2 separate regions of the Homo sapiens genome follow, and region 1 is linked to region 2. The links are contacts of gene promoters, found by promoter capture Hi-C in human tissues and cell types (Jung and others, 2019). All regions are on one chromosome and are shown on one strand. Each heading gives the region's core, a stretch centred on a gene start or on the middle of the fragment in contact. The rest is flanking DNA. Distances are from core to core; before and after follow the strand shown.

Region 1 (7,005 bases), core at 109-2,608, 630 kb before region 2:
GAGCTTAAGTCACTTATTTTGAATTATTTATCAGGCAATTCATAGGTCTCAATTTCTTTGGGATCAGCCACAGGAGCTTTATTTTGTTCCTTTGGTGGTGTCATGTTTTCTTAATTCTTCTTGTTCCTTGAAGTGTTGCATTTCTGTCTTTGAAAAAGCAGTCTCCTCTTCCAGTCTCTACTAACTGGCTTTGGAAGAGAAAGACATTCACCAGACAATCAAGAGTTTGACGTCTTTCAGGCCTTTTCTATGGATTCACCTGCCCCACTCTCTTGTTCCCCCTTGTGGGGGTAAGGCTTAGGATTGTGTGCCTACTCTCAATCCTGTAAAGTCAGGCCAGGTGTGGAGGGCCTCCTCTTAATTTTCTCCAGGAAAGTGCCTTGAAGTGTTCAAGATTGTGCACCTTCTCTCAACCCTGCAAAGTTGAGATAGCTGCTGATATCTATGTGCTGTCTGTGGGGATTTGCATGTGTCCTCTGTGGTGGCTTGCACTCACTATCTGTGGAGGCTCAGGTGCTCTGTCTCAGGAACGCATAAATGCCATCTGAGGACTTTTGCATGTGCCATTTCAGGGGCACATGCAGAGTGCTGAGGGTGTGAGTCATCCAATTGAAGGTGTTGAAGATGAGGCATCCTACAGGGTTTTCATGGTTTTCAGACTCCTGGTGGAGTCTCAAACCAATTAATAGGGTCTACAGCTGGTTTTTGAGACTTTGTGGTTGCTCCTACCTCCCCCAAGACTTTTAGCTGTGTGATCTTCTGTGATCTGGGTGGGGTGAGGCAGAAGTGAGCCTCTTGGGTAACAACCTGTGAGGCTGGGGAAGCTGGACACTCACTTCACTCTCACTATCCCCCATCGAAGAAACTGTGGACTTGGGCACTGAGCCATGCTGCCTTGGGAGTAGGGTGATGTGGGTTAAGTGAAACTGTTCTTCCTCTTTTTCTTTTTTTTAGGTGGAGTCTCGCTCTTGTTGCCCAGGCTGGAGTGCAGTGCTGCAGTCTCAGCTCACTGCAACCTCCGCCTCCTGGGTTCAGGTGATTCTCTTGCCTCAACCTCTGGAGTAGCTGGGACTACAGGCACCTGCCACCATGACCAGGTAATTTTTTTTTTTTTTTTTTTGGCAGAGTCTCACTCTGTCACCCAGGCTGGAGTGCAGTGGTGTGATCTCGGCTCACTGCAACCTCCGCCTCCCAGGTTCAAGCTATTCTCCTGCCTCAGCCTCTCAGGTAGCTGGGATTACAGGGGTGTGCCACCACGCCCGGCTAATTTTTTGTATTTTTAGTAGAGACGGGGTTTCACCATGTTGGCCAGGCTGGTCTCAAACTCCTGACCTCAGGTGATCCGCCTGCCTCAGCCTCCTAAAGTGCTGGGATTAGAGGCACGAGCCACTGTGTTCTTACCTTCATCAACGCATCTAGTCTTAGTTGTTTTTTCTTTTCTTTCTTTCTTTCTTTTTTTTTTTTTTTTTGGCTTAAACAGAGTTCTATAATTGCTTCACTGGACTCCTGGTTTCCTACTTGAGGTACTCTTCTTGTCCATGGATGGTTGTCAAAATTGATGTTTCTATGGAAGTATGAGGACTGGAGTCTCCTATTCCACCAGCTTGCTGTCATCACTCTGGCAAAAATGTCAAGTGGTTATCTCTTTTGTTTTCTTTGCAGTCTGCCATAATTACCAGATTCTTTCCAATGAGGACATTTTACTCTAAAGTAGTAGTAATACCATGGACAATGAATGAGTCTAATCTTTTTCAATCAAGTTCATTTCACTTTCAAGTAAATCTATTTACTCTGTAGTGTTGTAAATGCTTCCCAAATATTTAATAACTTGAAGTAAATGAGTATTATTTTGCTCATTTTACAGATGAGGAAACTGAGGACCAGAGAAGCTAAGTAGATCACCCAAGGTAATACCTGAGATGTATGGACCCAGTGGCCAAGCTCAACCACCATGTCATGCTGTCCTCAAACCCTCTGGGCCAAATTGCACATAGTTTACAGCCTGTCCCAGGCTGACAAGGAGGTGACAATTGCACTAAGCTTTATGATTCTGAAACCTGGAATCTGGAAGCCATGGAATTCCAAAAGTCTGAAGAGGCCCCCTCTTAATTGTGTGGCTTTGGGAAAGTCCCTTACCTCCCCTACGCCTTGGTTTCCTTATTTGTAAAATGTGGGTGATACCATCTGTATTCTTTCCTACTCCTCAGGGTTGTTATGAGCTCAGGTATATGTGAAAATGTTACATAAACTGTGAAGGATGTAGGTAGGCAGGAAATCAAGGGAGAGATATCAAAGAGATGCTGTGTGAACAAAGGTGCATTAAAAGGACTGTGAAGGCCATTGTGAGGGAGCTGTGTGAAAGGGAATTTGGTTCCTGAGGAGGAGCAGTGGGACTGGGGTAGAAACAGGTTTGGTGTTAAATCCTGGAGGACTTTAATGTCAGGTGATGCACTGGGATGTTACTGACAGTGAAATAAGGAGGGTGGGCTATGAAGAGTCATCCACTGCAAAAATACAGCATGATTGTCGGGTTGTCTTCAGCCACTCTGCTGGGCCTCTAGGCCCGACTCTTGAGTGAGTCTGAGAGAGGGAGCTCCCCAAGACAGGCCCTCTGGGCAGGTGAGGATTCCAGTGGTGTATAGTGACTTGCTGGCAAGTTTTAGTCAATGCCCATGAGAGGGAAGCTGGCACAGGAGGCCAGCATTATGGTTCTTTCCAGAAGCCCAGGAAAACCAGAGTGTGAGCCTCTCCCATTTGGTGGGTCCTTCCAATTTATGGTAGCCAGCTCATTTGATTCTCCAACAGCCTGGAATGGAGATGAACTCTTATCTTCCCTCCACTAATCTGCTCTTCCTAATGTCACCAGTGACTCTAACTTCCTCCTCCTCGAATCCTCCTTAATACAGTTGCCAGTAGTTTACATTGCTGACTTCTCCCTTGCTCCTAAAAAGTTCTTTTGCGACCAGGATTGCACTCTCTCAGCCAGTTTTTTAACTGATTCTTCTCAGGCCCCTTTGCTGATTTCCTTTCTTTTCCACACCCTCCAAGATTCCATTCTTGGTCTCCTTTTCTTTTTCAATGAATTCTCCCTCAGTGGCCTCATCAACTACCAGTATGAATGCCCACTGTGTACTCATGTGTCTCAAATTGTGATCTCCAGACCCTGTATTTCTTATCATGACTAAAATGAAACTCATCTCTGCCCATACTCACTGCCTATTCTCTCACTTAATGTCATCACAACCACAAAAGGTTCTGTGTCAAAGCTGTGACAATGTACCTGGTTGGTTTTAGCAGAGAGGGGATTTTTTGGAAGCATGGGGCAATTCACTGACATGAAGAAAATTCTTGAAGGTCAAGACTCATAAATAATGAAGGCCAGAGCAGCTCTGGGAAGCTGAACAGTGGATACAAGTGAATGGCTTCCCTGGGGAATGAAGACTGAAGAATGTAGTAGAAGAACATTACCTACCATGTAGTGTTTGTTGAATCTAAAATGAACTGTACAGTTAAGGAAGCCGAGGCCCAAAGAGGATGATTCAACTTCCATCCCTTCATTCTTTCTGCCATTAGGCTCGAGATTAGAATTACAGGAAGAAAGCATCTGAATGCACTAACTAGGGTCACATGGTCTTAGCTGGGGGTAAGCACAACCCTTTCAGTGATGGTCCTAACAAATTGTAAATCAATCCTGATATTGTCAATCTTGTTTTTAAAAGCCTCTAGAGAATGATTCTTCCTCCTAAAACTCAACGAGCATTCTGAACCTGAAAAGGGGGGGATGAAGTCTGGGTGTAAAAATATCACAACTGTCCATCATACTCTGGCCCAGAAACATCTTTAACTCCTGCCTCTTCCATACTTCACTTCTCCTAAATATCTTTCTAATAACTTCCCTGCCCTCATAACTCCTTGCTGCCAGTCTCTACCTGCAAATCTATTTGCCCCACTACCAGTCATCTTCTACAATACATTCTGGGCTGGGCGCAGTGGCTCACGCCTGTAATCCCAGCACTTCAGAAGGCCAAGGTAGGTAGATCATTTGAGGTTAGGAGTTTGAGACCAGCCTGGCCAACATGGTAAAACCCCGTCTCTATGAAAAATACAAAAATTATCTGGACGTGGTGGTGGACGCCTGTAATCCCAGCTACTCAGGAGGCTGAGGCAGGAGAATTACTTGAACCCAGGAGGTGGAGGTTGCAATGAGCCAAGATTGCGCCACTGCACTCCAGCCTGGGCAACAGAGGGAGACTGCATCTCAAAAATAACATAACATAACATAACATAACATAACATAACATAACATAACATAACATAACATAAATAAAATAAAATAAAATAAATAAAAAAATAAAATAAAATAAAATCTGATCAGTCCAAGCTTCTCCTTCCCTCCCCCTGCCCCCAAAAAGAACCCTTTATGGTCCCCCATTGCCATTAGCTGAAGTTTTTAATATGGTTTACAAGGTCCTTCCCAAGCCTTATCTTTCCACAAGGCTTCATTTACCACTCCAGCCCCACTACTCCTGAAACAGGCCTCTCTATGCCTATGTCTGTATTCTTCCTTTCTCCTGGATGCCTTTCCCACATTCTCTGTCTCGAAGGATCCCATTCATATTCGTCTTTCATAGATAGCATCAGATCTCACCTCTCATGGAGACTTCCTCAAACAAGCCAGGATGAGTTGGTTAATCCTTCTTTTGTACTCTTTTCACACTCAGTAAGGACTTAAGATTATAGCCCTGAGCACATTTTATTATGGCGTTTGTTTACAAGTCTGTCTTCTTCACTGGACTGGGAGCTCCTCTAAAGTAGGCCCTGAGTTTTCCTTGGCTTTATTGCCCTAGTGCTTAGCATTGTGCCTAGCATGTGGTGTTTGGTGAATTTCAAGTGAGCTGTACCGATGAGGAAACTGAAGCCCAAGGAGAACAAGCTGCACACTTAGAATGAGCAACCTCCCTAATGGCAATCAAGTTGGAGAGACAGTTGTGATCAATCACATTGGGCTTTGTAATCATCTAGGCAGTTGCTAAAGACTGGAAGTAAAGGGTGGTCACCAGCTATCTCCCTTTGCACTTTGAGAAAATAAGGCTCAACAGGCTCAAACTTAAATGGTCAAGAGGGATTTAAATTAAAGAAGAGAAAGACCTTCTTGTTCCTGGGTTTGGTAGACAAAAAAGTGAGCTGACTCAGAACGTTTGTGAACTTTTTGCCTCTGGAGACTTTTACAAACAAGATAGACCTTATTATCAGGGCTGAGTCGAAAGTCCTGTTAGAGGCGGACAAATGGCTGAGCTGACGTCTGAAGAAGCTGCCTCTTGAGGAAGCCCTTGAGGGGCAGAGGAACCAGTGAGAAGACTTCAGTTCCCAGGGAGGTCAAGGATGCTTGGGGGAGGGGGAGACAGAGGAGGGAGCCCTTCCTAATTAAGCCTCTACCCACGAGTGAATGTGAGGCTAATAAGGCAGCCCCATTCCAGGGCACCTCCACACCCAGCCAGCCGGTCTGCCTGTTTATTGCCCGTATGGAGATCATTAATGCCTCCTGACACTGGGGTCACTCCCGGGGTCAATCCCGGAGCCCCTTCTGGAAAACAAGGGGAAATGAACTTCCCAGCACATGTGGCTCAGCCTTGGCAGGGAGGGGGACTCTGGTCACCCCACACCTCAGCTCTGGGAGAGATCAGCACTCCAGGCAGTCAGACCCCCCGAAACAATCCCTTCTGCCCATGCTGGACTCAGGGGGGGTGGTCCTGGGGAAAGGCGAGGTGGAGGCCCTTGTCTGGGCCGGGACAACCCCCACTGAGGCTGTCCCAACCGACAGACAGACACTAATCCCCTGGCGACGGACTGGGCTGGTGTCTGGGAGCTGCAGCTGCAGCTCAACAGGGGCCAGGCTGCCGGCCACAGGTGGCGGGAAGGCGCAGGCCTGGTGGCCACGTGGGCGCGAGCTTGGGCCTCGGCCCCACCCTCACCCGCTTCCCCCTCGTTGATTGGGCCCCTTCCCCTTCCGGAATCCAAGATGGTGGGGGGGGGGCGGGCTTCCAGGGCAATCGGAGCTTCAATTGGTGGAATGCAGGCCCTTTGAGCTGAAGGACAGCCTCAGTAGCCACTCAGGGAGCTCATGCTGGTGATGGTGGTGGGCGCTCAGCCACCTTACCTCACACTTAAGCAGCCGAGGTGACCTCAGGAATCGGTCTCCCGCAGGCTGGCGAGAGCCACAGTGAGAACGAGGAAACTCCAGACGGCCTCCGGGCAGGCCCCTTACCAGCCTGGGGCGTCTTCCTCGATAATGGAACTGAGAATCAGTCCCTACCTGCCCGGCAAGAAGACGGGAAAAACCTCCAACTACCTTGGAGGAAATCAATAGGATTACGAGGTTAATGCCAGAGCAGGCTGAGTGACAGTTACCAAATAAATGATCTTGGGAGGACATGGCTGAGGTTAAACGAGGCCCAATAAATAAAGGAGCGTGTTCAAAGGAGAAACTTCAGAAAATGCAAGGACGCCGGAGGCGGGGGTGGTGGTCGGGCCTGGGGACTCCTTCCTGTCCTCTCGTCGGGGACCTGTTGAATCTCCCAGAGGAGCCACAGCCCCGGGCCTGCCTTTCACAACCTGCCCACTCGGGTCTGCACCCTGTTCCGTGCCAGTGTTGGCATAGCTCCAGGGCACAGCACTCCTTGGACAGCTGCATCCCCCCAGCTTTGGAGACTGAATGAGGGAATGGAAAGTCTTACCGTGGAGGCCTGACCAGTTAACAGAGCCCCAGCGTGCCTCTGACTCCTTAGAGAAAGGACCAACTGCAGCAAGAGGGGTTGAAGCTAGATGTGAGGAGGCACTTCCCAAACAGATTGATGGACAGAGCTTATGGGCCTTGGAGACAAGGAAGTTTCCCGTAGGCCTTCAGCTGAGTGTCTTTTCTTCATGAAATCTGCTATAGAACGGTTTTGATGACTGAGCAGTAAGCAAAGTCCCTTCTCCAATTTCTTCCAAATCTTCCCACTGATG
Region 2 (7,022 bases), core at 1,044-3,543:
TTAATTTGTAATACATATGACATTCTGGGAGAAGTATACAATGTTGCTATATCATTAGTTAGAAATGGAAAGTTTCTTTCACCTGATAAGTCATGGTGAATAAGGTCAGCAAAACTGGGGTCTTCACCCCACCAAAATATCCACAATTCTCTTCTTCCAGGTCTTTGATCTCGCCGCCAAACACCAAGTACATCTGCCTTAAGGCAGCGACTAAAACTGCTCAAAATGGGGTCTTCTTCTGTCACAGGAAACAGAATAGGGGCAGAAGTTGGGCCTTGCCATACATATTTTTTCCACTTAATTCCTGTCAAGTCAGCCTGAAGGAAAGAAAGCATTAAGTTTTATTACTGCATATTCACTCAAAGTCAAAAGTACTCAATATGATGTCTCTTATTTCATTAAGACATTACAATTTTTCAATGTATGCTTGAGATATTGACTGCAAATTAGAACAAAAAAAGACTTTATAATTCAACAACCAAGAATTTTAGGGAGAAGAATACAGTTAAAAATTACCACCACCATGTCACTGAATAGCAAGCAAATATGTACTCCAAGTAGAAACAGAAGAAACTGAATGATGTTAAATATAGACACACACTTCAATATGCAAACAGAGTACATTTTTCTCTGTCCTAACTGGTCACATTTGTTCACTGGTGTCAAACTTTTAACTGAAAATCAATTATTAAAGACCCTATCATGGGTTTTTATTCCACATTTACAGAAGTAACGTCTCTAATGAAAAGACATCTGAACAAGTTCTGAAAAAATCTATGTTAATTCTTCACACACACCCCTGTCGGAAAAGTCAAATAGCTACTCACAAAGAACTGTCAGATTTGTGCTAGTCTATCTTCAAAGAACTGATCCTAAAAGTACCAAAAATAGACTGAGTTGGATAAGATAGAAATATAAAACCTGGTGTATGTCTTATTACATGTGAAGAGATGCTGATTAATGGACATTGAAAAGAAAAACATACTGTAGACGAGGATAGAGTATTAAAGATCTCAATTTAGCATGGGCGTTAAGAAATTCGACAAGAGGAATTCAGTAATTTAATCTAACTTAAAGGAGCAAAGCATAAGGTGCCAAAAATGAAACTGCTGATACATGACTGGCAGTTTACACTTGCCAACTAGTTGTGCTCCTCCCACTTAACTCACTTACCTATCATATACTCTTAATATTTCTCATAGCACAAAGGAGAAAATGAAAAAGTAAAGTCACCCAAACTTAAAGTCATTGATGAAGCTCAGCTACTGTCCCATACAGGACAAGTTATTTGCAACAGTTGGTACTTCTGAAAGCCTTAACTGTTGGATGTTACCAGACCTGGGCTAACCTACACAATGATCATCCCTACATCCCGCTTCTCTCGACTTTCCATTTCAATCAAACAAGGGAGCAGCCTGCTCAAAACATTCTGAAAAAGCAACCAAAACACAATAAATATAGAAACAGTGCAAAACCACAGCACCTCGTCCACTAGCCCCCTTCACTCTCACAAAAACATCATGTTCTAATAAAAGCAAGATGGCTAGAAATTGTCAAAAATGGCAAACTGTTTTCAAAGTTTAAAAAGAAAACATATGAAATGGCACCTACTGGCTTTTACAGAGAGATCTTAAGTCACCCAAGAAAGAAACTAACCTGGCGTTAGTTTGACTCATACAAAAAAAATGTAAAACCAAGACAGGTTTCTAGGGCTTAAGTTCTGGGGTCCTGTTTACATGGGGAAACCAAATTAAAAGGGTAAGACATAAAGGCGGTGGGGAGCAGGGGCAATAATGTAAAGTGTGAAGCAGGGATACAGGGCCAATAAGGAGAAAAGCAACAGTTAAGCAAGACAAGAGGGAAAGGTTACTGTCCTGCCAGATAAGGAGCTCAAGTTGAGGACGAGACTACGGTGAGAAGGAGAGTCCGAAACAAGACGAGAAAAAATGCCAACACTCCCCTAAACAGAGCCCGGGACCGTAGGAGAGCGAACGCCGCCTCCCGGGGCTGGCCGCGGAGCTTCGCAGGGCGCCGGCTCCGGCTGGGCCTCGCCCGGGAACTCGGGCATCTGGACCAGACCCGGCCCCCTCCCCCACGGCCCAAGGGCGCACCTCGCGGCCCCCCTCCCTCGGCGCCCGCCGGCCCCGGCACTCACCAGGCAGAAGAGGTTACAGTGACAATCTTCCAGGCTGGCCCCGTTCGGCACGAAGGAGGCACTCATCGTCCCTCACAGCAGCCGCCGCCGGCGCCACAACCCACCATCCGCCATTACCGCCGCCTCCGACCAGAGAGAGAAACACAGACACCGGGGAGGGCCGGGGGGGGGGTAGTGGTTGGGGGGGCGGTGGAAGAGGAGGCCGCCGGGCGCCCGCCCTCCCCACCCACCCCCCCGCCGCCGCCGCCGCCGCCGCCGCCGCGAGCAGCCCCCGCCGCCCGGCCGGCACCCAGCCGCCCGGGGCCGAGGGCCGGAGGCGGGAGGGCCGCGCCGCGCTCGCCTGGCGGGCCGGACTGCGGATCCCGCAGACGCTCGTCCCTCTCTGGGGGACGGAGGGGATGTGTGCCCCTACCACAAGAAAAATAATAAATTACACAATAAATAATCAAAATCAAGTCCGAGACGGCAGAGCCCAAGCCCAGGACGGTTCTCCCGGGCGGAGAGGCGCCCGCACAGGAGCGGGAAGGGCGAGAACCGGGAGAGAAGCCCAGGCCCCCGGCGCGGCAGCGGCGATGTCCTTAAGCCCAGAGTCTCCTCAGCGGCGGAGGTGGTGGCGGCGTCTGCGGGCTCAGACCATTCTCTGGCTCTGTCTTCGTGTCGTTCCTGGGCCAAGCCGGCCTAAAGTTTGCCCTCCTGTGGCCTCACCGGCTGGACGCCGTAGTCTCCCCCATTTTGTGGGCCCAGCGGGCGGTGTTTTTCCCCCTTTAATCCGAATTCACGGGTTTTCCCTTCGCTTTAATGGCGGCCACAGGGACCAGCTCGCCCTCTCTGCTCACCCATTGGCCGCCTTGAGGTCACGTGGGCCCGGGCTCGGTTGGGAGGGGGAGAGAGAAGTGAGCGAGGGAGGGCCGGGAAGCTTTCGGCGGAGGCGGTGAGCTCGGGGGACGGGGCAGCCAGCTGGTGGCCACTAACATAGCGCCATCTGCTGGGTGCCCCGGCCAGTATAAAACGACCCGGGGCCCTGGCCCTCTCTTTGCGGGGAAATTTACAGTCCAGGAAGGTTCATTTCACAAATCAGTGAGAATTACGTGGAAATCAGTTTGAGTTCTTTGGAAGAGAAAGTATTGGCAAAAATTCCAAGACATTCTCATTTATTTCGCGAGGCCGCTGGGGTGCAGGTGCAAACCTCTGGATTTGGGAGTCAGATGATCTGGATGGGGATAAGACTCCTCAACCTAAAAGTTGTGATATGAAGATATAAATTTAAGAAACAAAATATTGCCCTGTAGTTAATAGACTGGGAATTAGAGCCACACTGCCTGGGTTCCAAGCTTGAGCAAATCACTTCCTGCTCTGTGTCTTTACTCATCTGTAAAATGGGGAAAACATATCCCTTACCCCACAAGCTTATTGTAATGAGTTAATACAAATTAAGCAGGTAGCCCAGTGCCCCGCACAGATAAGCACTGTTAAGAGTTAACTATTATTGTTGTCATCATTACCTCATATAGTTATTGTGACGAGCAGGAGAACTAGTGTATGTAAAGGTCTCACTATTTTTTTGTTGTTTACTTCTGTCTCTCTAGTGCCTAAAAAAAGGTTCCTAGCACACAGTAGGTGCTTGATATTTGTATAGTTACAAATGAATGGGTGGTAAGAAGTAAGAACCAAACAAAAGGTTTATTCTCTTTCCCATAAAACACCCAGTGCTTGGATGGGTTACACTTCAATATGAGTTCAAAACAGTTTCTCTGACGGTTTTAGGATTGCAAGAAAGAAAGAAGAAGAAAAAGATGATTCAGAAGTTAGAAACATCAGTGAGTTAGGACTTACTGTAATTTTATGTATTACAGATACATAATTATGTATTATGTATTACAGATACATAATTGTATCTGTAAAATGAATGGTAGACTCTTCCATGTCACTTCTTCAGCCACGGAATGAAAAGAAGTCCTCATTTATCCACTTGTTCATCTGTGGTGGTGAAGAGCCCAGATCTGAAGCCCAAAGCCTGGAGAAAAAGTTCTGCCCCTCACTAGTTAGTCTTAGATCATATTTGACCTTAGATCAAATTAATTTTGCTTTCTCTCGGTTATTGTAAAATGGGGGTAATAAAAGTACTTTTCTTCTAAAATGACTGGTGAATGAAACAATGTAGATACAGTGCTTGCCACAGTGCTTACTTAATGTTAATTATTAATGTAATTTTAAAAATCATTGAGAACCTGCTGGCTCAATTGAGTGTGTTCCTGCTCTGTGCTAGGCCTAGGATACAAATAGGAATAAGATACCTGCCTGTCCCTCAAGATTCCTGAAGAGAGGCACTAAAGGAAACATTTCCTACAGAATAAGGTAAAATACAATGGGGGTAATTGCTTGAATAAAGTATGTACCTACTATGGCATAGTAAGTGCACTAGAAGAAGAGCATCAAACTTAGAGAAGTTGTCATAAAGTAGGTAGCATTTGAAATCAGATTTGAAGGATAAAATGAATTCTTATAAAGCCCTTTGAAGCAGTTAAATCTTATTAAACCTAATTCGAACCCAAAGTCCACATATCAAAGTCAATTATGCAACCAGGACTAATTCAATCCAGGAGCTCAAATCAACTAAGGTTGGCATCCTTTATAACCGAGTGCCAGCACCAGGAGACAGCAATCCCCAGATCCAATGAGGTAAGCGCTCCTCTGCCCATTTCCCGTTCCCTGAAAAACTCCTCAGATCTTTGTTCCGCTGCTTTCCTCAGGCTGAAATGCCCTCCTCACATCTAAAGGGGTCTCCATTCTCCTTAGAAGTCTTGCCCTCCCATTGCCCCCACCCCCTGACTTGAGCACCATCCTCAGGATTCCAATGGCAGGTAGAATATACCTGAAACCTACCAGTAGGAGGTAACATTTGATTGACCTTTCTGTTTGAATGTCAATCTTTTCAAAAAGAAGAGGGAGACAAGGAGACAGAAGCGAAGAAGGGAGGAAGACCCAGAAGAAAAAGTCTGATGGAGGATCGCAGAAGGGAGCAGGAGAGAGAGAGAAAGACAGGACTGAGAGAATGGAGAAGCAGATTAGAATGGGGGGGATCCCAGTTGTGAGGGGAATGGAATCATTGGGAGAAGGGAAAGAGAAGAAATAAATATTTTCAGCCCACAAAGAACGTATCAGTAACCACTTACATTCGGTAAAAATGACATTTTGTGTGATTTAAAGAGTAATGGAGGCCGGGTGCAGTGGCTCACGCCTGTAATCCCAGCACTTTGGGAGGCCGAGGCGGGCAGATCATGAGGCCAGGAGATCAAGACCATCCTGGCTAACACGGTGAAACCCTGTCTCTACTAAAAACACAAAAAGGCGGGCGCCTGTAGTCTCAGCTACTCGGGAGGCTGAGGCAGGAGAATGGCGTGAACCCGGGAGGCGGAGCTTGCAGTGAGCTGAGATCGCGCCACTGCACACCAGCCTGGGCGACAGAGTGAGACTCCGTTCTCAAAAAAAAGAAAAAGAGAGTAATGGAAATACGGACTTTGGGTATACCATCCTGGTGGGGGATGTTGATAATGAGGGAGGCTGTGTATGTGTGGGGGCAGGAGTTATATGGGATTTTTAAAAAGTAATGGAAATAACTAAAAACATTACACACATATTGTCGGCCAGGTGTGCTGTGTCACGCTTGTAATCCCAGCACTTTGGGAAGCCGAGGCAGGTGGATCACCTGAGGTCAGGAGTTCAAAACCAGCCTGGCCAACATGGTGAAACCCCATCTCTACTAAAAATACAAAAATTAGCCAGGCGTGGTGGCACATGCCTATAGTCCCAGCTACTTGGGAGGCTGAGACAGGAGAATTGCTTGAACCCGGGAGGCAGAGGTTGCAGTGAGCCAAGATCACGCCACTGCACTCCAGCCTGGGTGACAGGGTGAGACTCTATCTCAAAATAAATAAATAAAAACATTACACACACATTGTCAAAAGTTTGGCAGATACATAAAAGCGTAAAGATGAAAATTTTAAATGTACATTACCCAAAAAAGTCCGTATCATTACCATTCATAATTAATCACTTTTTAACATTTTGATGTATTGACTTTTCCCTATGTATCTTTTTCCTACATGGTTGAGATCATACTATATGACCACTTAACTACCCACATGTATTAACCATCTAGTATGTGTCAGGTCATGTATTGACAAAATACAGCATATACAAGCAGCTCATAATCTTGCTTATAATGGCACTTGAACAGTTAGACCAACTGGGGTCAAAACTCCATACTTGGCCCAGCACGGTGGCTCATGCCTGTAATCCCAGCACTTTGGGAGGCTGAGGTGGGCAGATTGCTTGAACCCAGGAGTTTGAGACCAACCTGGGCAGCATGACGAAACCCCCCGCTGCAAAAAAAATAAAAAAATTAGCCGGGCGTGGTGACACGTGCCTGTAGTCCTAGCTACTTGGGAGGTAGAGGTGGGGAGGTTGATTAAGCCTGGGAAGTTAAGATTGCACCACTGCACTCCAGCCTGGGTGACAGAGTGAGACCCTGTCTCAAAAAGCAAGCAAACAAGCAGAACTCCATGCTTGCTAGCTCCCTAACTTCAATTTACCCCTTTGTTGAATGTGTATGTAATAATAGCACCTAAATGTCAGAGTTGTTGCAATGATTAAAAGAGATAATCCAAGTAAAATAGGAGCCAATCAGGAATTTTAAGGTTAATTTTAGAGGTTACTTTGGGTCAATAATCTGGGTCAATAATCACCGACTGTCTTCTGTTCTTTGAAATATGGATTCACTCAATGATCTGCATTTAAAACTGTTTTGTAACCCCTTCTGTCTTGTAGGGTCTCCATTCTGAATGAGATGGTAGAGGCACTGGCTTAC

The links. Contacts are between HindIII fragments. The study calls those that stand out against the background at their distance.
Region 1: a contact is called between a fragment that was not itself captured here and the fragment with the promoter of MED13 in region 2, in 1 of the 25 tissues and cell types used here (lymphoblastoid cells).

What each region holds. Positions count from the first base shown.
Region 1 is chr17:61,437,689-61,444,693 of GRCh38, forward strand. No RefSeq gene overlaps it. Among named protein-coding and RNA genes, the nearest start is that of TBX4, 11 kb to the right of the region's middle. RefSeq lists a silencer at 6,133-6,343. The HindIII fragment of the contact is 3,704 bases long and covers 1-3,210 here.
Region 2 is chr17:62,062,985-62,070,006 of GRCh38, forward strand. MED13 (mediator complex subunit 13) reads right to left here and starts at 2,294. Exons shown (of 30, transcript NM_005121.3): 1 at 2,156-2,294; 2 at 83-317. The coding sequence starts at 2,221. RefSeq lists enhancers at 1,685-1,784, 2,695-2,954 and silencers at 1,935-2,214, 3,005-3,084. The HindIII fragment of the contact is 4,175 bases long and covers 1-3,278 here.